4 separate regions of the Homo sapiens genome follow, and all the other regions are linked to region 2. The links are contacts of gene promoters, found by promoter capture Hi-C in blood cells and fetal thymus (Javierre and others, 2016). All regions are on one chromosome and are shown on one strand. Each heading gives the region's core, a stretch centred on a gene start or on the middle of the fragment in contact. The rest is flanking DNA. Distances are from core to core; before and after follow the strand shown. Region 1 has its middle 44 kb from the start of MIR4440. Region 2 holds the start of OR6B3 (olfactory receptor family 6 subfamily B member 3). Region 3 has its middle 60 kb from the start of LINC01940. Region 4 has its middle 64 kb from the start of MIR4440.

The links. The method cuts DNA at HindIII sites, captures the fragments that hold promoters and counts their contacts. A CHiCAGO score of 5 or more calls a contact.
Region 1: a fragment that was not itself captured here is called in contact with the fragment with the promoter of OR6B3 in region 2 in 7 of 17 cell types (neutrophils, M0 macrophages, monocytes and 4 more); the score reaches 6.2 in neutrophils.
Region 3: a contact is called between a fragment that was not itself captured here and the fragment with the promoter of OR6B3 in region 2, in 4 of 17 cell types (M1 macrophages, M2 macrophages, M0 macrophages and 1 more). The highest score is 7.3, in M1 macrophages.
Region 4: a contact is called between a fragment that was not itself captured here and the fragment with the promoter of OR6B3 in region 2, in 5 of 17 cell types (fetal thymus, M1 macrophages, neutrophils and 2 more). The highest score is 7.0, in fetal thymus.

Annotation. Positions count from the first base shown.
Region 1 is chr2:239,022,174-239,028,384 of GRCh38, forward strand. No RefSeq gene overlaps it. Among named protein-coding and RNA genes, the nearest start is that of MIR4440, 44 kb to the right of the region's middle. The HindIII fragment of the contact is 9,608 bases long and covers 1-6,211 here.
Region 2 is chr2:240,052,250-240,057,972 of GRCh38, forward strand. It overlaps OR6B3 (olfactory receptor family 6 subfamily B member 3), which reads right to left and starts at 1,272. Exons shown (of 3, transcript NM_173351.2): 1 at 1,211-1,272. RefSeq lists enhancers at 2,584-3,226, 3,227-3,867. The HindIII fragment of the contact is 11,088 bases long and covers 1-3,731 here.
Region 3 is chr2:238,982,639-238,988,965 of GRCh38, forward strand. No RefSeq gene overlaps it. Among named protein-coding and RNA genes, the nearest start is that of LINC01940, 60 kb to the left of the region's middle. RefSeq lists enhancers at 2,342-3,324, 3,325-4,305. The HindIII fragment of the contact is 2,614 bases long and covers 2,387-5,000 here.
Region 4 is chr2:239,001,988-239,008,449 of GRCh38, forward strand. No RefSeq gene overlaps it. Among named protein-coding and RNA genes, the nearest start is that of MIR4440, 64 kb to the right of the region's middle. The HindIII fragment of the contact is 873 bases long and covers 1,976-2,848 here.

The sequences.
Region 1 (6,211 bases), core at 3,175-5,674, 1.0 Mb before region 2:
GTAAGAAACACCAATATCAAATCCAGTAATAATCATATTCGCTGCCCTCGCTCTGCTTGTCCTCCCACAGGACAGCTCTCTTGGATGAGCGTCACAGCAAAAGGCTTGTCCAGATCATCTCTCACTGATCCGGCCTCTAGGAGACTTAGCCCTGTAGGCACTGATTCAAATTACACAATGCCTTTCTCTTAGTTTTTGCCATCATTATTTATAAAGACACACTGGAAACTTGGATTACAAAAATGTTACTATTTCAGGGACTCAGAAGACGACAAGTCAATGGCTATTGTACCCCGCAGTGCACCAGGCTGTGCTGTGCTTCCTGGAGGTGTGAGCCCAGGATCGTCCCTTCCAGGAGGTAGATCCTCACAGCTCTCACCGCTTCCCCAAACTTTATGGCAAAACAGCTGTGACAAGCCGTCAGCGGGGCCTACCATATCTGACAGTTTGGAGTAACTTGGCCATTGGCTTGAATCAATCGTCAAATTGGCTGTTGGCAAATGGATGAAACAACCCAGAGCTTGTGCGTGGCACTGACTGTCCAGAGCCAGGAACCCGCCTGAGGCAGACTCTGTCCCGGCAACATCAGGTCTGAGTGGAGGGGGATAAACAGAACAAGCAAACAGCCAGAAAAATACATGGGGGGAGCTTGGGGAAGGGGGATTTGAGCTGAGGCCAGGGTGGAAAAAAGGCCAGAGCCACTCACTGTTTGTGGGTAGTGAGGTCTCCATTTGGGGATGTAACTCCTGGGGCTGGAGGAGGGTCTGACGGCAGCAGACGTGGGGCCGGTGGGGAGTCCGTACAGACACACACACAGCTGATGGGTGATGCTGGCCCTGATGAGGTGTGATGGAGGAGATGTAGAGGAGAGATTTACTTCCAGAAATACCATGAATCACTCCCTGTTTTTGCAACACAGCGCCGTGACTCTGTGAGGTACAAAATAATTATAAAATGCTGTCCTTTCCCAGTCTGTTAGCTTGTTTTAAAGTTAAGTAATTTCTCCCCTCCCTGTCCTTTATTTTAAACCCAAGACCTTAAAACAATGAGCTAAAACCCCAAGACTTCCACAGGTTGTTTTGGAGGCTTCTAGGGAACTGGGGCAAAAATATTTGTTGTTATGTTAAGGTCGGGCTGGTTCCCCCTTTGCTGTGACTGCTGGGAAACTCAGAGCCTCATTTGCAACCCACCCCTAGCAACTGTACAGAATCACTTGGTGTGCATCTGGGGTTCTCTTTTGATTCTTGGCTTCATCTTGATTTCTTTTCCTCTTACTTTTTTTCTTCACCCCAATTTCACTCATAGTGTCTATCTCATTGATGGGTAGTGCCATAAAATCTGGGGCTGGGGGTTGGGGGATTGCTCAGGGCCCAGGGGCTGCCTTGGCTTCCCTCCCCCACTGCACGAGGATGGGGCCTCTCTGGCGCCGAGTTCAATTCAAGGACGGAGGATGCTCAGTGTTTGTAAACTTCGCCACAGACAGAAACCCAAAGGGTGATGCTGGCTGCATGCAGAGGGCAGTGGCGAGGTAGGAACTCCACCCTTTCCTCCACTCCAACAGCTGCTGCCACAGCAGCCGTGGGCCCTATGGGCAGCCCAGGTCCTGCATGTGCTCCTGTCTGGGCTGTGCTCCCTGTCCTCCTTAGAAGAATCGAGACTTTAGAACAGCAGCCAGGCCATGCCCTCTTCCCCCAAGCCCCACGCCCTGCAGGGGGGCTGTGGGAAGTCTGGAAGCCGCCTCCGCTGTTCTGTGGATGGTGACCCTTAGCTCTTGTCTCTCAGTTGGCTTGGAGCAGGGTCCCCAGGTAAGCCCCTACATTAGTTCATTCTCACGCTGCTATAAAGCACTACCTGAGACCAGGTAATTTATAAAGGAAAGAGGTTTAATTGACTCACAGTTCCACAGGGCTAGGGAAGCCTCAGGGAACTTACAGTCGTGGCCAAAGGGGAGGCAGACGCATCCTGCTTCATGTGGTGGCAGGAAGGAGAATGAGTGCCCAGTGAAGGGGGAAGCCCCTTATAAAACCATCAGCTCTCCGAGAACTCATTCCCTTTCATGAGAACAGGATGGGGGAAACCGCCCCTGTGATTCAATTACCTCCACCTGGTCCCTCCCCGTGACACGTTGGGGGTTATGGGAACTACGGGAGGAGATTTGGGTGGGGACACAGCCAACCCATATCAGCCCCACATTCCAGGTGGGGCAGCCTCCCTTGCTAATGCAGTTCACGACTCCGCCATTCCTGGAATGTTGACCGGGCCACACTGAAGGGCACTGAGGCCACAGGAGGGTGTGCAGACACTCACTGCCCTTGGTGGCCATGATTAGGGTGTCAGCTGCCCTCCTGGTTCTGGCCCCCTCTTGTTCTTCATGTTTCCATCTGTTTTCTGGTGGCTGTGGGGAGCTCAGGATGCCCAGGGTTTCCATAAAGTTGTCCTGCAGAGTGAGAACTCCAGGCTTCCCACATCCCTGTGAACAAACAGGCCTGTCCCTGGCCCAGAGTAGCCAGGGCCTTCCCACTGCTTGGCCCCACTTGTGCTGGCCACAGAGCACGGTGGCAGCCTCAGCTACTTGGGGCCACTATTGTTTGTCATGAGATCTGAGCTAAGAATATGCTGTGTGCCATGGTGAGGTGTATTTGCAGAGTAAAGCCTCAGAATATTTGCTTTGCATGTGTTGTTTGGAAACCAAAGCCTTTGAATTGTCCGTGAATTTCTTGGGCTCCTCCCGCAGTGTGGGGTCTGCAGGCCCAGGGGTCTTCTCTCCCTTGCTGCAGAAACACACCTTGCAGCCATAGTCTTCAAGCCCACAGGGTACACTGTCAAAGAAGAAATGTGTCCTTAACTTGGGTACAAATCTGTAATCCATAGAGTAGAAGGAAACCCACATCTCTGATCATCCCTGATCATAAAATCTCATCCTAACCCTCTCTGGACCTGAGAATCGTGTTCGTGACCCACACTCAGGGTCTCCCCAGGTTCACTGTGAATAAGCGGGATGTTTTCACTGAGAAACTTTGTGATTGTTCCCTCCATGTTAGACAGTGAGTCATGTGGCAAAAACCGAGTCAGGAGGAATTCTGCTGAATCAAGACTTTACTCTGATAGCATTAATCATGAGACAGACCTGCTAACACTTTTGGGCGTTCCCAAGACAGAAACTTACAGGCAAGTGGGAAAGGCAGCCAGGAAACTCAGCCTCCTGCATCCAGACTCCTCCACGGTCGCATTCTGCAGGGTTTGCTGGTCCCCTCTGCCAACCTTGTGGCTCAGCCACCCCCAGCAGCAGAGCCGAGGGTGTGTCTGCTCCAGGAGACGCTGGCCTGGAGGTGCTGTCTAGGGCAGGAGACACTGGCCTGGGTACTGTCTCCCAGGGAGGCTCAGCTCTGCCCGCCTGGCTTCCTCTGTGTCTGGTCCTGCGCAAGACATGGTCCCTGCCACACCCATGGTCCTGGTGTGGCAGGGATCCGGGGGGTGGGGACTGCATCCACGCTTCTGCTGTTCCGCTGGGACCAGGGCCCCTCGCGTTGTGCCCTCTGACGTGGCTTCACCTTCACTATGGCGGGGTTGGGGAGACGGAGGGTCCGCAGCAGCCCCATGCAGGCCACCTGCTGCTCCCACCTCAACCCCCTACCCCGCCCCCCGCCCCCCCCAGGCCAGGTCGTCCCGGGGGCTCTGCACCAAGTGGGTTCTGGAAGTTTCTAATTGCATCTGGGTGGGAGAGGGAGCTGCTTGGCAGCTCTATGCTGCTTCCTGCACTTTTCAGAAGAAAAAAATCATCTCCATCCCCATCTGTTTTCTTTTTGAGATAAAATCTATTTTAGGACAGAAGTATGTGCCCTGCTTTGCCCATGCTCACCTCCCCCACAGCTGGGACGTGGCTGCCTCTGTGGGTGGCTGCAGCTGTGCCCCGGCCGTCCCTCCAGCGCAGAGCCGGGCAGGGGGTCAGACCCTAGGAGCGCCTCTCACTTTGGCAGCCCCAGGAAAACTCATAAATAACAGTGTGCCCGCCCCCACCGTTGGCCCACCCTGTCCAGGGCCCTGTCTCCCTCAGGCTCCAGCCTCCAGGCTGCCAGGGAGGCCCTGGCCTGAGGAGTGGCCTTGCAGAGACCTCCCAAGGCAGCATGTGGACCCCCGAGACGCAGAGTGTGCGCTCAGAGATCCTCCCACCACTCAGAGTGCACACTCGGAGATCCTGCCACCACTCAGAGTGCACACTCGGAGATCCTCCCACCACTCAGAGTGTGCACTCAGAGATCCTCCCACCTGCACACGTGTTTTTCTCTCTTAACTCCATTGCAGAGAGGGGGCCGGGTCCCAGCGACACAGAGAGGGGGCCGGGTCCCAGCGACACAGAGGGGTCGGGTCCCAGCGACACAGAGAGGGGCCCAGGGTCTCAGCGACACAGAGGGGTCGGGTCACAGAGACACAGAGAGGGGCCCAGGGTCCCAGCGACACAGAAGCTGTTTTAGCTGAAATCACTTTGCCTTAAAGGCTTCCTGGGTACATGACGGATGTCCTCGTAGTTCCAAGCATGAGTTATTCTGGTCCCTTCTGGAACACGTTTCTAGAAGGAGGCCAGGTGAGAGGTGAGGCAGCACCGGGGCTGTGTCTGCCTACAGCAGAGACACCAGCACATCCTGGGGGCAGAGAGGGACGAGATCTGTGTCTGCCCAACCAGGCTGTCAGCTCCATCCATCCACACGGGGCTCTCTTCCCCGCCAGGGCGTCTTCCCCGCCACAGTCCCGGAGCACCTGCAGCACAGCCAGCTGCAGTCATGCTAGCGCCACCCGAGCCAGCACAGGCCTGTAGGTCGCGTGGCCTAATCCTCAGCCTCCCTGAGTGGAACGGTCCAGAGCGAACATTACTAGACGTGCGTTACAAGAAGAGTGAGTGGATAGCTCAATAGATGATGAGAAAAGATCCCTCGCAGCCCACACTTAGCATGCTCCCCCTGTCAGCACACTCAGTGCATTCCTGGGGGCCGTTCCTGGAAGTTGTCAGCAACAGGAACGTGGCGCTGGAAGCAGGAAGGGCCCAGATCCCAGAGAACCAAGGCAGGAGAATGTCATGCGTGGAGAGCCTCAGATGCAGCCCACCCTGGGCCGGCACTCCCAGCCGGTTTTATTGTCCCCAGGTCACAGAGCTGAGTTTGACAGGAGCTGCGGGGCGAGTTTGAATCTGATTCAAGGTGATGTTTTCTAAAATATTGGCAGGGTTTTTAGGACACTGAGAAAAGTAGGAAAAAATAAAAATAACAGAGGGTTTTAGACAACAAATAATAGAAAAATAAAGAACTGGTCTGAGCCACCCAGGATCGCTGTCCCTCCCTGGTGACCTTGGCAGTGCTGCATGAGGACCAGGCGTCACAGCCCTCAGAGCCCGTGACGATGCTGGCCTCGTCTGCCTGAGGACCCAGGGCGAGCATGGCGCCGGGGAACGTCTGGGGTGATAAGAGGATGTTCTCCCCACCGCTAATGAAACTGAAGGAGTTATGGACCCACTTCCAGGCCTGCGTGTCTATGCCACGTGTCAGCCCTGCCATCCCTCATGTCAGCACCATTTCAGCTCCAGGCCTCGGGTGTGAATCTGGCATTTCTCAGTTTCTCAGCAAATCTCCCACAGGGCCCCCAGCAGTGGCCACTGCACTCCAGGAGGTCCTGCCAAGCAAGTGGCCAGGACGGCGGGTCCCTACCGGTGGCCTTCAGCAGCTCCCGAGGACCGGCACGCCTATGGAGGGGACGCCATAACTCCAGGCCACCAAGCCCTTCCCCTCACTGCCCCAGAAGAGTTTTAATCTTTAGGACAACGCAATCAGAACCAGATGTTCCCCCAAACAGGGGCCGGGCCAAGGCGCGCCCTACACACAGCGCCGCTGAGCCAACAGAGTTGCGTCTTTTGTCTGGCGTGGTGGCCCACGCTGCGCGCACAGCCAGGGACCCAGCTGCCGACACCTTGTTTCCCCCCAGGCATGTTGACCACAAGGCACAGAGCCACGCTCGGGTGGGCCCAGGCGCAGCATGGGGCTCGAACCCTGCTGGGCAGCCCAGGGGACCAGCGGCTCCATCCTCGGGATTCTTCTCCTGGCTTCTGGGTTCTGTCCCTCCTCTCGCCCTGCCCTGTGGCCACGGGAGCCTCCCAACCCCAAACTAGCCTCATGATTTTCAGCTCAGCTTTCCCAGGGACTGACTCAGCCCTTGGTCTCCCACT
Region 2 (5,723 bases), core at 22-2,521:
CAAATTATATTTTTCTTGAAACAGGATGAAATAATTCTTGAAATCATCTGGAAATATAAACAGATGAGAATAGCTAAAATAATTCAGGAAGAAGAAAAGAGAAGCAGGTTAATGAAGAGGCGTTTCTATTTTGGATAGAAAAACTACAATAAAAATAAAATAATAATTTAATAAAATAAATACTAAAGATAACGAGCACCACCATAAAGTCAATGGAACAGCATAGAGAAAGTATAGAAAGCCCTACATCAGAGCTGAGGATTTCTGTGATACTATTAGCAAGGAAAGCCTGGATTGTGTTAAACATGATGTCAGGATAGTTCATTAAACCCATGCTAAAAACCAACCGGGTCTGTTCTTCATATGTTACATCAGAAAGTGCATTTCAGATGGACAGAGCCTGCGATGCCTGCCGGTCCTCCAGCCTCTCCTAAGCTGCTGTTCTGTGGACACGACAGGGTAGAGCCCAAGCTGGAAGCCCGTGGGCCCGACACGCATAGCCTGCTCGTTGATTTCCTTTCAGCACTGATTTTTAAAGAATAATCCAATTAAAGATTATTTGTGACTTTTCTTTTTTTTTGAGACAGAGTCTCACTCTGTTGCCCAGGCTGGAGTGCAGTGGCATGATCTCGGCTCACCGCAACCTCCGCCTGCTGGGTTCAAGCGATTCTCCCACCTCAGCCTCCCGTGTAGCTGGGATTACAGGTGCCCAGCTCATTTTTGTGTCTGTTTTAGTAGAGACGGGATTTCGCCATGTTGGCCAGGCTGGTCTCGAACTCTTGACTTCCGGTGATCCGCCCACCTCAGCCTGCCAAAGTGCTGGAATTACAGGCATGAGCCACCGCTTCTTAAACATAAATAGGGAGACAGATTTTATGGTGGGGCAGACCGAGAATTCCAGTGGCTTCTGAGCACCTCTCAAGCCAGTTCCTCACACGCCTGTATATTGGGTATATTGGGATGTCATTTATCCTGCACGTTTCAGAAGGACAATTCTCTAAAACTTTCACTTTGACCTTTGTTTTTGAAAATCAGAACATTTCACACAGAGGCACCAATATCTGGTTTCTTTTGAAAAGCTGGAAGATCTGAGGCAACACCGTTCAAGGTCCTGCACTCACAATGCACCCTGTGGACAGTGCAAGATGCACCCTGCTCGCAGCATGGCCCCTCTCTCTGGGAGCACCTGCCCCGTCTGCCCACTGCTTACCTGATTGCAGCTGCAGGGCAGGGCGCGAGGCAGGCAATGATGTGTCTCTGCTCCTACTCAGATACCTCTGGGTCCCCATGTCCCCTGTCTTCTTGGGGTGCACATTCCCACGAATGCCTCTGATGAGGTCTCTTCCTCCCATACATAAAGACTCACAGGCAGTTATACTCCCTCCTCCCACTGCCATGCGGCTTCTGTCGCTGTGCACCTCGGGGACTAGCTGTCCCCAGAAGCCAGCGACGTTCTGCTCATTTCTGGGCCCACATTTTGGCTCTTGTTCTGCTCCCCTTTCCTTCAGTGTCTGGCGCTGTGGCCCCAGCCTTCCGTCCCCACCGTCCACACTCAGAACAATGTACCCGCCCCTGCGGTTCCTGTAGTCACTTCCAGCTGACGACTCCCAGGCTGCCCCGATCCCTCTGCAGAACTAACTCCTGTGTCCAGCCAATGACTCAAGACCTCCCCTGGCCATGGAGCCCCTGCCCCTGTGCTCTTCCTCTCAGGGAGTGGTGCGGCTGCCCACGCCCCCCGGATGCCCCACTGAGCTCCCGTGTGGACCCTTCCCCTCCCCTCCCTCCACACCCGAGCACGCCTGAGTCCTTCTGCCCCACATCTTAAATGCCTCCAGAATCAGGTCTGCTGTCTCCACGTTCATGGGCTGCCATCCACCCTGTCCTTGTTCAGGTTCCGTCCCTCCCAGGCTGGATTATTGTCACCGCTCTCTCACTGGTCTTCCTCCAGTCTCTCCTGACTCTGTCTGATCCATCATCCCAGTAGCAGGGAATGACATTCAGGGAATGACACGCAGACCTCTCTCCTGGCCACGTCCATTGCATGTTCTTAGCATAAGCCCCTTGCTCCTGAGTCAGCCTCTCTATGGCCTCACTGCCTCTCTTGCTCCTGCCCCTCCTGGAATCCCTGGCTGCTGCAGGAGGCACCTCTTCAGTGCCATGAGAGCACCGTGCTGATTCAGTCCCCACTGCTGCCCTGCCAGTTGCCCTTCAGGACTTGCCTCAGACGTAGCTTCTTCCTGATGGGCTCACTTGAGCTCCCGATGCTACTGTTAGCTGCTCCCAGAGATGAGGAATTTCAGGGTGCCTCCAGGCTTCTGCTTTCATTAGGGTTTCCCTGCAGAGGGGGAAAGTGCACTTGAGGAGAGAGAGGAAGATGAGGGGCTTAGTTTGGGGCATGCTGGGCTTGCAGCGCCTATGGGACACCCTGTAGAGAGCTCCAGGAGTACCCCTGACATCCAGAACGCCCACCAGAGACTGAGGTCAGATGTCAAGATGTGTAGGGGGTCGGTCCAAGGTTTATTAAGTGTCTAATATGTGCCAGTCATTGTTTCAGGCAATTGAGATAAATCAGGAGAAAAAAACAGTCCCAAACTCTTGCCTTCATGAAATGTAAATTCTAGTGAAGGCAGGAAATAAGTCAGAAAAATAAATAATACCCATGATATGTAAGGAAATTATTTAGAGTGTGGAAGGTGGTGAGTGGATGGGAACAGAAGGTCAGGGTGGGCTGGGGGGTGGTGGTGGGGATGTGCCAGAGAGGAGGCGACACCAGGGCAGAGTCTCAAAGAAGATGTGAGTTAGCCTGTGGCTGTCTGTCGGACACACGTAGGTGGAGAGAAAATGAGGTGCAAAGGCTGCAGGCTGGGGAGTGCAAGAAGGGGGTCAGGGGGTTGGGGCAAGGCTGGCTGCAGCAGAGTGATAGGGAGTGGCAGGAGACAGTGACAACCAAGAGCAGAAGGAGCCCACTCAGAGCCTGAGGTGGTGAGGACCATGGTGAGGACGTTGGCTTTCACTCTGACGGCAGTGGCATGGCACCACCCACACTGTAAATGGCTGACTCTGACCACTGCATTGAGATCGGGCTGGAGGAGTCAGGTGAGGAGGGGGAGCCCGTGCAGAGACCCTGAGGTCATCAGGGAAAAGGCTGCAGGAGCGCAGGCCAGGGCAGGAGGCGTGGGAAGGGCAAACCTGTCCGGTGTGTGCTGAAGGCAGCCTCAACGAGGCTTTCTGGCTGGGTCCCTGAGAATCAAAAGTGACACCAGGAAGTCAATCTGTGCTGCCTGCAGGGATGTGAATGAGATTGACCAAGGAAAATATGAAGACTAAGAGGGCAAGAATAAAAGTTGAGAAGCCTCCCCCTCTAGAAGCAGGAAGAGGAGGAAGAGGGGCTGGTGAAGGTGGTGGGAGACGTGGGGAGACACTCGGGGACGTGTGGCCCAAGCCAGGACACGGTGGCTCCTCCAAGAGGAGGGAGCATGATTGGCAGGTAGGAGGCCATTGGTAACGGCAGAGGGAAAACATATCAGGGAGGGTTTGGGGGCAGAAGCTCAATGTTAATGGGGCAGGCAGAATTGGAAAGGAAGTGGCACAGAGCTAGCAGGAGCAGATGCCTCTCAGGAGGAAGGAAAACAGTGATACAATTTGGTGTACTTTCACAGTTTACCATTTCCCAAAACATTTCATCCTTTTACTTCTGGTGTCTTGAAGTGTAAGTAGGTATTTTACTTGAAAGCTTTTCTGAACCCAGTTCTGTGGAGTTAATATCACAATGGAAAGTATAAACACCAAACAAGAGTCCTCCAGAATGTGTTTCTGGGGAAGATCTGTCCCCGGGGAGGATGCCTGGAACGCATGCTTCTGAGCTGCAGTGGAGATGAGCGTGCGGCTGGAGGGGACACGGCAGCAAGGTCTAGGGGGTGGAGGGTCTTAGAAACCTACGTCTTCCTGCCCATCCCTTGTCACGCCTGTCCCCAAAATCACCAAGACGGCGAAGTCTGGCCCAGGCCCAATGTGAGGGGATGAGGGGCACCCCCTAGCTGCTAGTTGTTGATGGAATTTGGGGTGGGTCTGGGACTGGATACAGGTTTGAGTTTGGGACCTCATGTGATGGTTCAGGGCCGTCACTCCCTGTGGGAGTCAGACAGGGGGACTGGTCAGGCCCCTGGCTGGATCAGGGTCAGGGGAACCGTCCTGCTTCCGAACGGACGCCTCACTGGCACCCTTGATCCACTTGGCTGGAGCATCATGTTTGCGGGAAGCGAAGCTCAGGGCTTTTTGAGTCTGTTTTTCTTTCTCGCAGCCCTCAAACCTCCCAATTGCGAGGAAAACCTCCTGTCATTTTCAGCCTCATCAAAGATGGGATAAGAGGAAATTCGAATGAGGGAGGCAAAAGAGGAGAGAGGAAGACAGAGAGTGAGCAGGAAGAGCAGAGAGGAGGAGGTGGAGCAGGCAAGGGGCAGTCCTCCACCTGAGTTCTGGTCCCTCCGCATCTCGAGGGCACAGGCACAGGTGGGTGTTCTGGCAGCAGCTCCAGCCCGCCACCTCCCGCGCCTGCCCCCCAGAACAGCCCTGCCTGCTCAGGCCCAGCAGCCGGTCACTGGCATGAGACCCAGTGAACATGGCCTTTCGGAAATGTGCCTGCCAGCATGCTTTCAGCAGGCTGCAGCAGGAGGGAGGGAGAGGCGGTGTGTGGTGGACAGGCAGGGAGGGCGCGAAGCAGAGCAGGTGCCACCCACATGCCATGCCTGGCACAGATGCGGGGTGAGCAGACCTGCAGTGGCTTCTTCCATCTTTCTACATTGTGGGTCAGGCAGGCAAGCCAGAGGGTGGGGCACATGGGAATGGGAATTGTGCCTGTGCCCCTGGGTGAAGATTTCAGACTGCAGAGGGAGAGGAAGCTGAGGTGGGAGGCAGGGCCCTACGAGGGGGAGTCCCACGTTGTGCAGTCACATCCCGGGCCAGTCATGGGGCAGGGATCTCAACCCCGACCACTGCCCTTGAGGAATCAGATCCTGGGGCTGCCCCCCAGACCCAGTCACTTCACTGGCAGAAGGAACCTACCCTGGAGAGCTGCGGGAGTCACGGTGGTTGTCCTCAGCCTGGTGCAGCCCAGCACTTCCCTCTGTCCTGCCCACTGGCACCTGTGGCCCATCGGCCTCTGAGGCAGCCCGGCCAGTCTTGAGAGCTGGTTTGTAGGCGGCACCAGGGAAGAAGGGGCTGTGTGTTCCTTCCCCGTTGTGCACAGATGTGGGGACTCCAGGGTCCAATTATCCTGCCACGGAGAAGTCACTGCCCCACACTGCCAATTAGCCTGGAATCTTATGTGTGGGATGGTGCCTGGCTGAGGAGCGGCCCCAACCCTGGATGGTAAGAAACTCACCCCATTTACTGCTGACCATCTCTGGTCCCCTGTCCAGACATTCAGGCCACTTGACCAACCTTCCTCCCCTGTCCATTCAGAGTCCACCCATACAGCCCTGTTCCCACTACAAGTTCTGCTACCCTCTCTCTTTGGGGTCAGAGAGGGGTGTGACTTCTGCTTGGGGACAGAGGCATTTTCTAGACTCAATGGCCATGACCTGGTCCAGGGAACATGGACAGGGAGGGACCATACTCTATTCCAGAATCCAGGAATGTTGTCACTGTCAAGGGGACAAGGAAATTTGAGTTTCTGACATAAGATAATTTCTTTTCTCAAATATACAGCCAACATAAACATCATT
Region 3 (6,327 bases), core at 2,444-4,943, 1.1 Mb before region 2:
TCACAGGGTTTGTTGTACAGATATTTTATCACCCAAGTATTAAGCTTAGTACTCATTAATTATTTTTCCTAATCCTCTCCCTCCTTCCACCCTCCACCCTCCAATGGATCCCAGTGTGTGTTGTTCCCCTCTATATGTCCCTGTGTTCTCATCATTTAGCTCCCACTTATAAGTAAGAACATGTGGTATTTGGTTTTTTGTTCCTGTGTTAGTTTGCTATGGATCATGGCCTCCAGCTCTATCCATGTTGCTGCAAAGGACATGATCTCATTCTTTTTTATGGCTACATAATTATATTGTGTATATGTATCATATTTTCTTTACCCAGTCTATCATTGATGGGCATTTAGGTTGATTCCATGTCTTTGCTATTGTGAATAGTGTTGCAACGAACATACCCGTGCATGTGTCTTTATAATAGAATGATTTATATTCCTTTGAGTATATACCTATGGGATTGCTGGGTTGAATGGTATCTCTGTCTTCAGGTCTTTGAGGAATTACCTTGCTGTCTTCCACAATGGTTGAACTAATTTATACTCCCACCAACAGTGTATAAGCGTTAAAAACTATGGACTTTTTGACTGGGATTGCATGAAATCTACATACCTATTTGGGAAGAATTTACATCTTCATATATTAGCTATTTCTCATCCATGAACTTAATGTATTCTTCCATTTGGGAGGCTGAGGCAGAAGAATCACTTGAACCTGGAAGGTGGACGTTGCAGTGAGCTGAGATCGCACCACTGCACTCCAGCCTGAGGGATAAGGCAAGACGATCTCAAAAAAAAAAAAAAAAAAAAAAAAACCAAACAAATAAAATAAATAAATGAATAAATAAATAATGTCTTTATAAAAAGTTCTCTTTTTCCATCATAGAATTCATATGCATTTTGTTCAAGCTTATTTCCAGGGACTTCATTTTTTTTAAAAAATGGTTTGTTTTTCTGTTTTTTTCCCTAGTTGTTTCTGGAATGTAAAATGTAATTGATCTTTGTATATTGATTTTGTATCCAGCAACTTGTTACATTCTTATTAATTCTAATAAATTCAACTTAGATTCTTTATGTACTTTTAGGCACACAATCATAATATCTGTGAATAGTGGGGGAGCTGAACACAGCTCACTAAAAGCAGGACACCCATGTGGGTGGTTATGGGTATATTTGGCTTTCTCTAGTTGGTCCTATGTTAGAAGCAGGGACAAAAATTAGGGAAGATGTCAGCTGTTCATTGAATCCTGGCCACTTGGGGTCAGTTGTTACAAAGGCTCTTGTTTGGCTTCCTGGACAGGTTGCTGGAGATGGTGGCCTGCCTTCCTCCACATCTGGCTTATTGACAGCAAGCTGGCCTCGGGGCTGGTCACTGTAGGAAAGGGGTGGGTTTCCGGGGCTGGTTGCCGCAGGTTGCAGGCCAGAGCTTTGTTTTTGTTTGTTTGTTTGTTTTGAGACGAAGTCACGCTCTTGTCACCCAGGCTGGAGTGCAATGGCGCAATCTCGGCTCACTGCAAGCTCTGCCTCCCGGTTTCAAGCAATTCTCCTGCCTCAGCCTCCCCAGTAGCTGGGACTACAGGTGTGCGCCACCACACCCACCTACTTTTTTTTGTATTTTTAGTAGAGACGGGGTTTCACTATGTTGGCCAGATTGGTCTTGAACTCCTGACCTTAGGCGATCAGCCCGCCTCGGCCTCCCAAAGCGCTGGGATTACAGGCATGAGCCACCACGCCCGGCCGCTCTGTTTGTATACACGGTCTGACCAGTGTCCATCTGTGTAGTCAGCTTCTCACTCTGCAACAGGTAACTAAAGGAAGCATGGAGATCACTCAGCTTCCAACCTGGCTTCTCTCTTCTCAGCTATAAGACTGAGTCAGGATCCACCATCTAACTCTGCTGTGAGCAGGGTCAATATTAAATGATCCTGTTCAATGTTTTCACCTGTTTTCCAAGAAAGGGTCTGAATGATTTGAAGAGGAAATATTTTTGTTTAGAAATAAATTATTGTCAAATAACATATATCAAAATTTGAGAAAAAATAAGCATTCAAGGTCTCTGACTTGACTGAAGAAAGCTTCAACATGTGCATCTATAGTGAGACACAGTCATTTTTGTGGTTGGTGGGGAGCTGCTTTTCCTACAGAAGTACGGAACCATGCATGACGCTGGCAGAATCCAGGTCAATGAGCATGTGCTTAACCATAATTTTTAAAAATACATATTTTGTTTTGTACCAAAGGGCTTTCATCTTCTCCTCCTTTGTAAAAATCACACAGCTTTTGAGTCCGTTTGTGTTGGCTTTCATTGAACTGTCCTGGGTTTTATCAGCCCAGAGACATTCCCTCCAGGACTCCTACGGGTGCCACCTCCAGAGCGGTAATCAGGGCTAAGCTTAATTAGAGAGAAAAACTTCCAGAAAGGGCAACTCCATCCCTTTTTATGGTAAAATAAACACATTTCCAAAAGGGGCCTTTCCTTTAATTAAATTCTCTGCAATGTGGCAGCTGCTTGGGAGGTATTTTTGCATATTTGGGTTTAAGAAGATGTATGTACATAGAGGTGATGTCACATTTGGAATGATGAGTGTTTATAAGACCAAGTTTATGAGTTTACTAACTCGCAAGCCAGCTATCTTCATACCAGAAAGGACAAAGCCAGCGTCCAAGCGTGGGCCTTCCCACGTCCAGCCATCTCGTAAAAACAGGCGAGGTGGGCCTCGGGAGAGACACAAATGTCAGGGGCGCAACACAAAAACCGAACAGGAATGTGGGGATGGGGGCTGCCGGCCCCTGGCGCTCAGCGGGAGGCCCCACCATAGAGCTGGGGCCCAGGGAGTTTGAGTATTTACCCCAGAGGTTACCCAGGATGGACGTGTTCAGTCTGGGCACACAATCAAAGCCCGCGCGGGCCCCTCAGGGAGGGTCTTTCCCCTCCTGCTGGGAGGCAGGGTCCCCAGCGCCCCCTGACCTCGCCCTTGCAATTGCTCAAACTTCAGGACCGCTCATCCCAGGCTCCACGGGGCTGCTGCAGAGCCAAGAAGACCCTGTTCTACTGAGCGACCGTTCAAGGGACAGTACTTTTTAGGGGGGTCAATATGAATCTCCTAATTTAACCTCTCCGCTGCCACAGCCATTCAACCCGTCCCTACAGAGCTCCTGCAGCGGTGCTCACGTGGCCTTCGGGAGGATCCACCAAGGTCACCTGCGTCACACCGGGGAACGACTCCCTCCCTCCCAAGAAAGCTCCGAGACAAAACCTGTACCAGGAAGGGTCCCTCGGCTCGTGGTGCTGCAGTGAGCCAGGCTACACCCTGGCTGGCAGAGCCCCGGGGCTTCCAGCAGCGCAGCCCTAGGCCTGCGGAGGGAAGGCTGCACTCCAGCCTGTCGGGGCCGCCGGACAGCTCTCCTGGGAGGCTTGGGCCTGGCACACTGGGGCCCTCGCTCCCCTCTCCATCGCCCTCTAACCTTGGTTCAGCTCCCGGCCCGCCCCTTCCCAGTGGGAACAAAGGCAGTAGCGATGTCCTCGCTGCCGCCTTCTTCCTCCAAGAGGAGTCCACTCCCTGCAGTCCGGCCCCGCTGCCTCTCCACGCGGGCTGCCTCTTTCTCATCCCTGCGCCGGCGCATCCTCTCAGATCCACAGCAAGGAGGGGACGTGCGGGGGAGGGGTCGGCTGGCTAAAACCCAGGCTCGCCCACAGAATGGTGGGACCCCTGCCTCAGGTGGTGGGAGATGCGTGCAGGGTCCCAGCCCCAGGGCAGGCGCCTCAGCCTCTGCGCGGGGCCGCCCTGCTCTTCCCTGGCTCGCTGGGATCCAGGCCCTGGTCTAAGCCCCTGGCCTCACCTGCCCTGCGCAACCAACGGCCCCAAGGTCCAAATGCAGGGACCCTCTCGGTGACCCAGGACGTGCTCAAGTTACCTTCTTCCTGGCACACACACCCACCCCTAAATTCAAAACTATCCCCGGCCATTTGGGAAGCAAGGCTCGCTCTCGCTCCCCTGGGGCTGTCTCCTTGCGCGGAGGGCTCCAAGCTCAGGGCGGGTCGGCTCAGGCAGGGTCTGGGGGCTCGGCGGGGCGCGGGTTCAGGCAGGCCCAGGGAGCAGGCGCATGGGGCGACCGCAGAGCTCCAGGACACACAGTCCGGGTCAGTGTTCCCTAGAGACCCCTCCAAGAGCCCCTCCTGGACACCTGTGCCGACGCGCAGCCACATTTGTCCTCTTCAGGTGGAAACAGGGCCAGTCTGACACTCCCCAGTCCACGCCCTGCACACCCCCAGACCCTCCACCCTTGAGGTGGACGCCGCCCTGAGAAACCCTCTCTCCTTCCTCTGGCAGCGTCACCTGCCGTCTGCACTGGCACCTGCCGCAGTTCTCTAAGTGCACCTGGGGACGCTCACTTGTGGCCTCAGGAGAAGGATCTGGAGGACGAGGAAGACAGAGGCAGGGACATTTTCTGATGCATCAGAGACCCGCGCCTACTGCGTTAGCCCCAGTAGAGACAGCCCTGGATTTTAGAGCCGGTAAAGCCTGGGGTCACTGTGGAAGGCTCTGTCCCGCTCCTGAGGAGACCCTCCCTCTTCTGCCGGGTTCAGGCGTGGAGATCAGAGGGCAGGCAGGGACCAGAGCATCTGACTCCCGGGACGCCTCACGACCCCGAGAGAGGAGCATAAATGTGGCCTAACAAGAATGCCCTTCTCACCCCCTTGCATCCTCCCCTCCCGCAAGCATCCCTGGTGAGGGGACAGGCAGGACACACCATTGAAACATAATTTGAGAACACAAGAAAACAATATGAGGCTGATTTCTTAGCATGCTGAATGGAGAGACGGTCAAAACAAAACAAAACAAAAAACAAACTAGATGGATTTCGCAACTGGAGGCGGAAGGAGCTTTGTAAGAGCCCAAGGAGAATCTAATTAGAGACTTCAACTAGAGTTTTGCAAATGAATTATTTACAATTCTTCAGAGGGAAATGATTATAATAATAACCTTTACAATGCTGAAATTAAGCTTATTATGCTCTTTTCCTCTGCCCCAGAAATTGTCTGAGGTCTGTCATCAGGCAAGATGCAAGGCGTAAGCTCTGCCTCCCGCTCCGGGCAGCGCCTGGGGCCAGCCTCGGGCCCTGGCTCAGCCCAGAGTCGGGGATGTGGTCAGCCAGGCGTTTAAAAGAGAAAGCCAGCAAGCGTCCTTTGCGTCTTTCCGTCCTTTGTTTCTCTCTTGTGACTTGAGGATGCTCTAAGTCAGGCTTGAGGAGTTGCAGAGGCTCAAAGAAGAAATCACAGCATCTATTCCTAGGGTGGGCAGGCCCCGGAACTGCCAAATGTAAAATAAACCATGTGAACTGAATGAGAAGAGGGGTAGAGGTGTTATGAAAAAGCAACTCAAAACAGGAGATTCCTTATGGCCTCCTTGGCACGTGCTACTTGGATTGGGAACTGAGGGTCAATCTGTTTAGAAGTCAGCGCATCCCAGGGGCTAGGCAGCTGATGCTGGTCCTCACAGAGCCCCCGACAGGGGTGCAAAGCGGGTAAATGCTACACCTCAACATCCCTCTTCAGGCCCTGCACTGCTGTCCTTCGATTTTATTAACTTCCTCCTTGACATGGGCCAGGCCTCCTCCCAGCCCTTCCTTGCCTCGGGTCCCCCAGGGCGTGGCTGCAGACAGGGCTGACTCTGCAGGTTGGCAGGCACTGCAGTGGCTGTGTCTAGTCACTGTACCCGAGTCCCCATCCCAAGTCCACACCACACCTGTAGTGGGTTGAATGGTGGCCCCCACAAAAGATAAGCCCATGTCCCAGAACCTGTGACTGTTTCCTTGTTTGGAACAAGGACCTTTACAGGTGTGATTAAATGAAGGCTCTCGAGGCCAGATGATCCTGGGTGATCTGGGTAGATCCTAAGTAGCCAACGACAGATGTCCTCCTAAGAGACAGAGGAGAAGACACAGGGAGAGGCAAGGGCCGTGCCCATGCGGAGACAGAGGCAGAGATGGAGGAGAGCTTGGAGCCACCAGAAGGCAGAAGAGACGAGAATATTCTCCAGGAGACCCTTTGGGGAAGCACAGCCCAGACACACCTGGATTTTAGACTTCTGGCCCCCAGAACTGGGAGAGAGTAAGTTCCTGTTGTTGAAGGCACCCAGGTCATGGTCCTTTGTGGCAGCCCCAGTGCCATCAGCCTTCCCCAGTGATCCCTCTCCATCTGTCTCTGCCACCGCCCTCCCTCCCTGAGAAGGCAGCGGTGGGCGGTCATGCCCTGTCCCATCTGCTCACTCACACAGGCCTCATTCTTGGCCAATCTGTAAACAGGCACCTGCTTGGGCAGGACTCTGGC
Region 4 (6,462 bases), core at 1,162-3,661, 1.0 Mb before region 2:
CCCTTCTTGGCGTTGTCTGTTCAATCTCACTCCCCCACCTGATGCTCCTCTTTCCCGGACCTCCTCCAAGACGGGCCAGAGTTGCCCGGCCAACTCTGCCAGTCTCTTGCCTGCTCTTTTGTGGTGATTTTCTTTTGAAATCTCAGTTGCTGTGTGATGCGTTCTTGGAGAATTCCTTACGTCCGTCTTCCGTTTCACCCGAGATCTGTTTGCCTGAATTTGCTGAGGATTTTATTGCATTTGCTGGTTTCCTTTTTATTTCAATGAGCATCTTTTTAATTTTCAGGTTTACTAATTAGATATTTTCCATTTCCATCAGTTCTGATCCTTTTCATTTCTGCCAAGTTTTGTGTATAGCCAATTACTCTTTTTAGGCTATTTCTTGTCTTTCCTCTTTAAGATGCTAAAAAACTTACTTTAAGGTCATTTTCCTGTTGCTGTGGTTCTCCCCCGTGTCCCTCTCCACACTCCTCCTTCTCTCCCTGTCCACGCCTCTCACATACACTCAACCCTGTCTGCCCTGAGGGTTTGCATCGGTCTTCGCCCAGCCTCCAGGGATGCCCTCCGTGAACCAGGTTTCATGTCCCACAGAGCATCGGCTAAATCACAAATAGAGTAATGGCATTGGTGGTGCCTTACCTGGGTCCTGGACAGGAGGCTGCTTCCTCTCACCTCCTGGTCCTTGAATCTGTGGAAGCTAAAGCCCGAGAAGCACTCAGCTGGAATTTTCTTTCTGTTCCCTCTCTGGGGTGGGGGTCTCTCTGTGCAGTCAGCTGGCCTCTGCTCCCAACCGTGGGGGCTGCACCAGGTGCCAGCACTTCCCCGACATTGGTTCCGGACCGGAAGCCCCATCTCAGACCCCACCCACGGGTTTTGTTCTGTCTGTTTTTGGTGTCTGTGATGCTTGGCTTGTTTTGTTGAAATATGTTTTCTCTAATGCTGCTGCGTATTCGGAGCAGAGAAGAGGCCTCAGTGCATGAACTTGTAGGGCCGTGCTGTCCAGAAATCCGGAAGTTTCATTTCTTTGTTTACATAAATCAACTTAAACCCAACTTGGAGCCCCACCCTGTGGGGCTGGCAGAAAATGCAACTCTCTCCCCTCCTAGAGTCCCTCCAGGATCCAGAAGCTTCCATGGTGCCCAGAAGAGCTGAAGGGCTGGGAGCTGTCACCACTGCCTCAGTGCCACTCGCACGCAAGTCCCGCTGCCCTCAGGCTGATGGCTGTTCCTCCACCCTGCCCGATGCCTGGGGATCCTTGCCGGGGATGAGAGCCTCAGGGCACAACATGGGCAGCCGTGTGCGCTCCACCCTCCCAGGCTGTGCCTTGGAGCTGTGCTCAGACCTCAGGTCCTTGGGGACACCAGCCTCCTCCTTTTCCCAGCCTCAGTGAATCTTGCCCTCTCCCTCCCACTCGCCTCCTGGGTTTGGGTTTTTATGAAATGGGTTTAGGTTTTTACAAAAGACAGAAAGAGCCTTTGGCTTTGAGCTGCTTTGGCGTTCTGCCTGGAAAAAAAATCCCCGAGGCAAAAAAATTACAAAGAGCCGGGTGATCTGCTTGAAATTGGATGAGGGGGAGAAATAAGAAAGCAAAACAAAGATTAATATCTCCACCCACCCCCTCAAAGTGTATTCCATCACACATCCCATTAAGAGCTGGCGAATGAATGGGCTGCCATTCTGAGAAGGGCCAATTCTTGGGGGAAACAGCTGGCAGTCACCACGTCCAGAAGCCGGCGATGTGGGGGCAACTGAGGCAGGGGCCACGGCCCAGCCAGTCGAGCAGAACTGGAAGGATCACAGCCCAGCCCCGGCTCGGAATGGCCCCTCGGCAACCACCCTGAGTTACCGACAAAATGCCGACGGACTGTTTCAAACTTGTATTCTCTTAAGCACGTTGGGAGAGTATGTTTCTGTGGTTTAGAACGCTTACTATCAAAAGAGCATTTTGAACATAATTTTGTCCCTTAAAGAGGTAAGCTTCAATTACTTGAGAACTTCATGGAAGCCTCGCATTTTGCAGCAATGCCGGGTCCGTGCGTACCATCGTCTGTCCTGGTTGTGTCTCTGTGTTCTCCATGTGAGAGGGCGGGGAGGGCCGACCAGGGCTGTTGAGGCTCAGGTTCCTCGCGAACTCTGCAGGGACTCCTGGGCACGCCACTCCCCTTTTGCCCCCCATGGCATTTATCTGTAAAGTAAGAGTTCTGCTGGGTTAAATGGCGCCACCTCCAAAAGATATGTCCAACAGGAACATCAGAGTGTGCCCCTAGTTGGCCCAAGGGCCATGTCATTAAGATAAGAATCTCGAGATAAGATCATTCTGGTTTAGGGTAAGCCCTAAACCCAATGCCAGGAGTCCTTAGAAGAGAAGAGAAGGGGAGAAGACACAGAGCCACGGGGAAGGAGGCCACGTGGAGACAGAGGCAGAGGTTAGAGTGATGCATCCAGCAGCCAGGCTTCCCCGCACCTGCCAGGAGCTGCAGAGAGCCCCGGAGAGATTCCCACTCACAGCCGCAGAAGAAACCAGCCCTGCCGCCGTGATGTAGGACTTCCGGCCTCCAGAACTGTGGGAGGACACATTTCTGTTGTTTGAAGCCACCCAGTTTGGGGTCATTTTTTATGACACCCCTAGGAAACTAATTCAGGAGGTTAAACTAAATCATTTCGAAGCCTCCTCAGAAATCTCCAGGCTATGGTTAGGAAGCGGGGTCCTGAATGTGGAATCCCTCTGAAGAACACAGCACACATATTCCCGTCTCCATCGTCTCCCTTCTCTCTGGAATCCGGGCCGGCCGAGAGGAAGCTGCCCTTCCCAGGCTGCTGCACCAGAGGACTGGGGGCCTGCCAGTGAAGCTTACAAGAGAAATGGCTGTAGGATGCAAAGATAGTTAGCCTGGGAAAGAGGAGACGTCCAGGGCCGTGGTAAGTTGAAAGCTTCTCATTTGGAAAAGAGATTAATCTTATTTTCGGTATTTCCAGAGGCAGCCCTGCAAGAGGAGTCAGATCTCTTTTCTTATTTCTTTCTTTCTTTATTTAGAGATAGAGTCTTGCTCTGTCGCCCAGGCTGGAGTGCAGTGGCACGATCTGGGCTCACTGCAACCTCTGCCTCCCAGGTTCAAGCGATTCTCCTGCCTTGGCCCCCCGAGTAGCTGGGATTACAGGTGCCTGTCACTATGCTCGGCTAATTTTTTATTTTTAGTAGAGATAGGGTTTCACCATGTTGGCCAGGCTGGTCTCGAACTCCTGACCTCAAGTGATCCGCCTGCCTAGGCCTCGCAAAGTGCTGGGATTACAGGTGTGAGCCACTGCACCTGGCCAGGCTGGTCTCGAATTCCTGACCTCAAGTGATCCACCTGCCTTACCCTCGCAAAGTGCTGGGATTACAGGCGTGAGCCACCACGCCCGGCCCAGATTTCCTTTCAGTACAATTTCCTACAGGGAGAAGACTGCAGCCCTGGAAGGGCAGAACCTGCCTCTGCTGGTAGCTGTGCAGGCAGGTAAGGGTGAGAGAGGGTCACAGCCCTGTGGGTGTTTGGGCTGGACAACCTGAGACCCCTTTTAAATCTGAGTTTTTGAAAGTTCATTATTCCTTGGGCTTTTTAGATCTCACCAATACAATTTAATTCCACAAAATCAGAAATCTCCAGTGAGCAGGGCCCAGGAATCTGCATTCATGCAAAGAGCCGTTGTGTCTCAGGCAGTCTGGAGACTCAGGCTAGTGACTGAGTGTTCCCTCAGCTGAATACAACCCGACCACAGCCAGCTACAGCCCCAGGGCTTGACCCACTGGGGACACCCCAAGACCACCTGCCCTGGCTTGGGAGGAGCTCCCCTTCTCTGCTGCGGGGTTGGGTCCTTGCCCTATGCAAATGCCCTTGTTGGCTGCAGATGGATCAGCCTCTCTCTTCCCATTTCTGAATTTTGGCCAAGATTAATAATAGGAGATAATTTCTTAAAATGCCCTTTACTCCTCTTTCCATCTTTCCCTAAAACCCGCCTCCTTCTAGAAGCCCTTTCTAGCCGCTATTTTCTGTCTGTCTCCATTATTCTCTAACTTAGCAAGCAAGCCATTCCCTTAGTTTATTGAATTTATCAGCTGGGGTGAATGTGTTTGTTAGCTTACTTTTTAAACAAAATTTTTGTTTTGAATTGACACATAACAATTGTACATGTTTCTGGGGTTCACCGTGATGTTTCCATGCGTGCACACGTGGTATAATAATCAAATCAGGGTGGTTAGCATGTCAACCCCTCAGACCTTTATCATTTCTGTGTTGTGATAACATTGAGATCCTCTTTGCCAGCTCTCTTGAAATATATAATACATTCTTATTAACCCGCTGTGCCATAGCACACCAGGCCTGTTCTTCCTGTCTCACTGGAACTTTGCACCCATTGACCAAGCTCCTACCCCCGCCCATCCATCCTCTGGGAACCACTGTTCCACTCTCTATTTCTATGAGATCAACGTTTTTGGATTCCACATGCGGGTGAGATCATGCAGAATGTAACTGTCGGTGCCTGGCTTATTTCAGGTAACATGATGTCTTTGATCTGTCTCTTTCTCTCTCTCTACTCTAAGCTCCCTGGGAGCAGGGGCTGTCTTTCTCTTATCCATTCTCAAAGTCCCAGTCCTTAGCACAGGGTCCTGATGCACAGTAGGCGCTTATATCCACCAGTATTAGGTTCAGCAGCAAAGAACAGAGACCCCGAATTACCATTGACCCAACCACACAAGATTTTGTTCCCTCAAGCAGAAACTCCAAAGGTGGACAGTGCAGGTGGTGTGGGCAGCTCGGCTCCACACAGCCGACAGGGATCCAGGCCCCTTCCACTCTCTGCTCCACTGTCTCCCAGTGTTCTCGTAGTCTGAGATGGCTGCTTAGATCTAACCTATATATCCATATATCAGACAGCAGGAAGGAGGAGGGATGATTCGGGGCACAGCCACTTCCCTTTAGGGAAGCAGCACACAACACTTCCAGTTACATGCCATGAAGCGGATGTTAGTCATGTGGCCAACCATAGATACAGGAGAGTCTGGGAGGTATAGTTTTATTCCAGTCAGCCATGCACGGTGCTAGAAAGAGTTCCATTTCTAGGAAATAGGGGTGTGTCCAGCAGCCTCTGCAGTGGAGCTCAGTAATTATAACTTGAATAAATAGGTGACTCAGAGCTCAGCCCGAACTGGTAGAATCTTAGGTCACCTTTATTTGACAGGGAGGATGCCCTGCTATTTACGGGCATTGATCTTTCTGCCCATAAAAATGCTGCTGGCATTGCTTCAGTGACTCAGGGACATCAGACCAGCACCCAGGTGGATGGCAAATCCCTGGAGAACACAGACATCCTTCCCTTCCCTTCCATCATGTTCATTTGTCCCTCATTCCTCTTTCTGTCCCTGCAGCACCGGGCCCTCTGCCTTGCACACCGTGGGTTGAGCAAACGTTTGTTGCTGGTGATGATGGTGGAGGGAAGGATGGTGTTCTCCACAGGGTTTGTGAGGGGCACTCACCTGCCTTGAGTGTTTTCCAGATGGGCTTTCACAGTTCTCTAAAGTCCAGTATAAATACGGCGGGGAAATGGGGCAGGGCTGTTGCCATCTTCCAGTCGGGAAAGGACTGGCAATTGTCCTCATGGCAATGGTGCTCCGTTCATCACCAAATCAACGTGCAGAGCTCAGGGTGCAGACGGAATCATCGCCTTTCTTAATTATTTTTGGTTAATAAGGAAAACACGGGCTCCTGGGCCCTAGACAGACCCTCCTGAGTTGCAGAATGATCAATCTTTCATGGCTGTGCCTTCACCTTCATAGCAGTCACTTCTTCCTGCTTTGGATGAATCAAATCCTATTTTCAACCAGACTTATCAATGTGCCCTTAAGAGGATTTGAAACCCTGTCGCTACTGAAAAAAAAAAAATTAGCTGGGCATGGTGGTGAGCACCTGTAATCCCAGCTACTCAGGAGGCTGAGACAGGAAGAATTGCTTGAACCCGGGAGGTGGAGGTTGCAGTGAACCGAGATTGCACCATTGCACTCCAACCTGGGTGGCAGAGTGAGACAAAAAAAAAAAAAAAAGACAATTACTTATGTGCACCAAACACACACTCACTGTCTCTCTCAACCCATAACTCACTGCAGCCAGGTTCCTACTCACACCGCAGCCTCAGTTTCTCTTATGCTTCTGCCGTCCCCTGTGAAGACCACACCCAGCCACCCTGCAGCGTTTGTGCCCCTCCGCTGCTCCGAACGGCTGAGCCCCTCGGGATGCCTCCGAGTAGATGAAGCTTCCTCATGCCACTGCGTCCTTCCTCTCCATCCTCCTTCATCCGGAGGTCTCTGCTATGTCGTTTCTGGGTTTGCCATTTCATTAGAACTGTTTCTCCAGTGCTTTCCTAGATGAGGCACTTAGGTGATAAACTCACTGAGGTTTTATGTATCTTCAAATACCTTCTGCTCCTAAC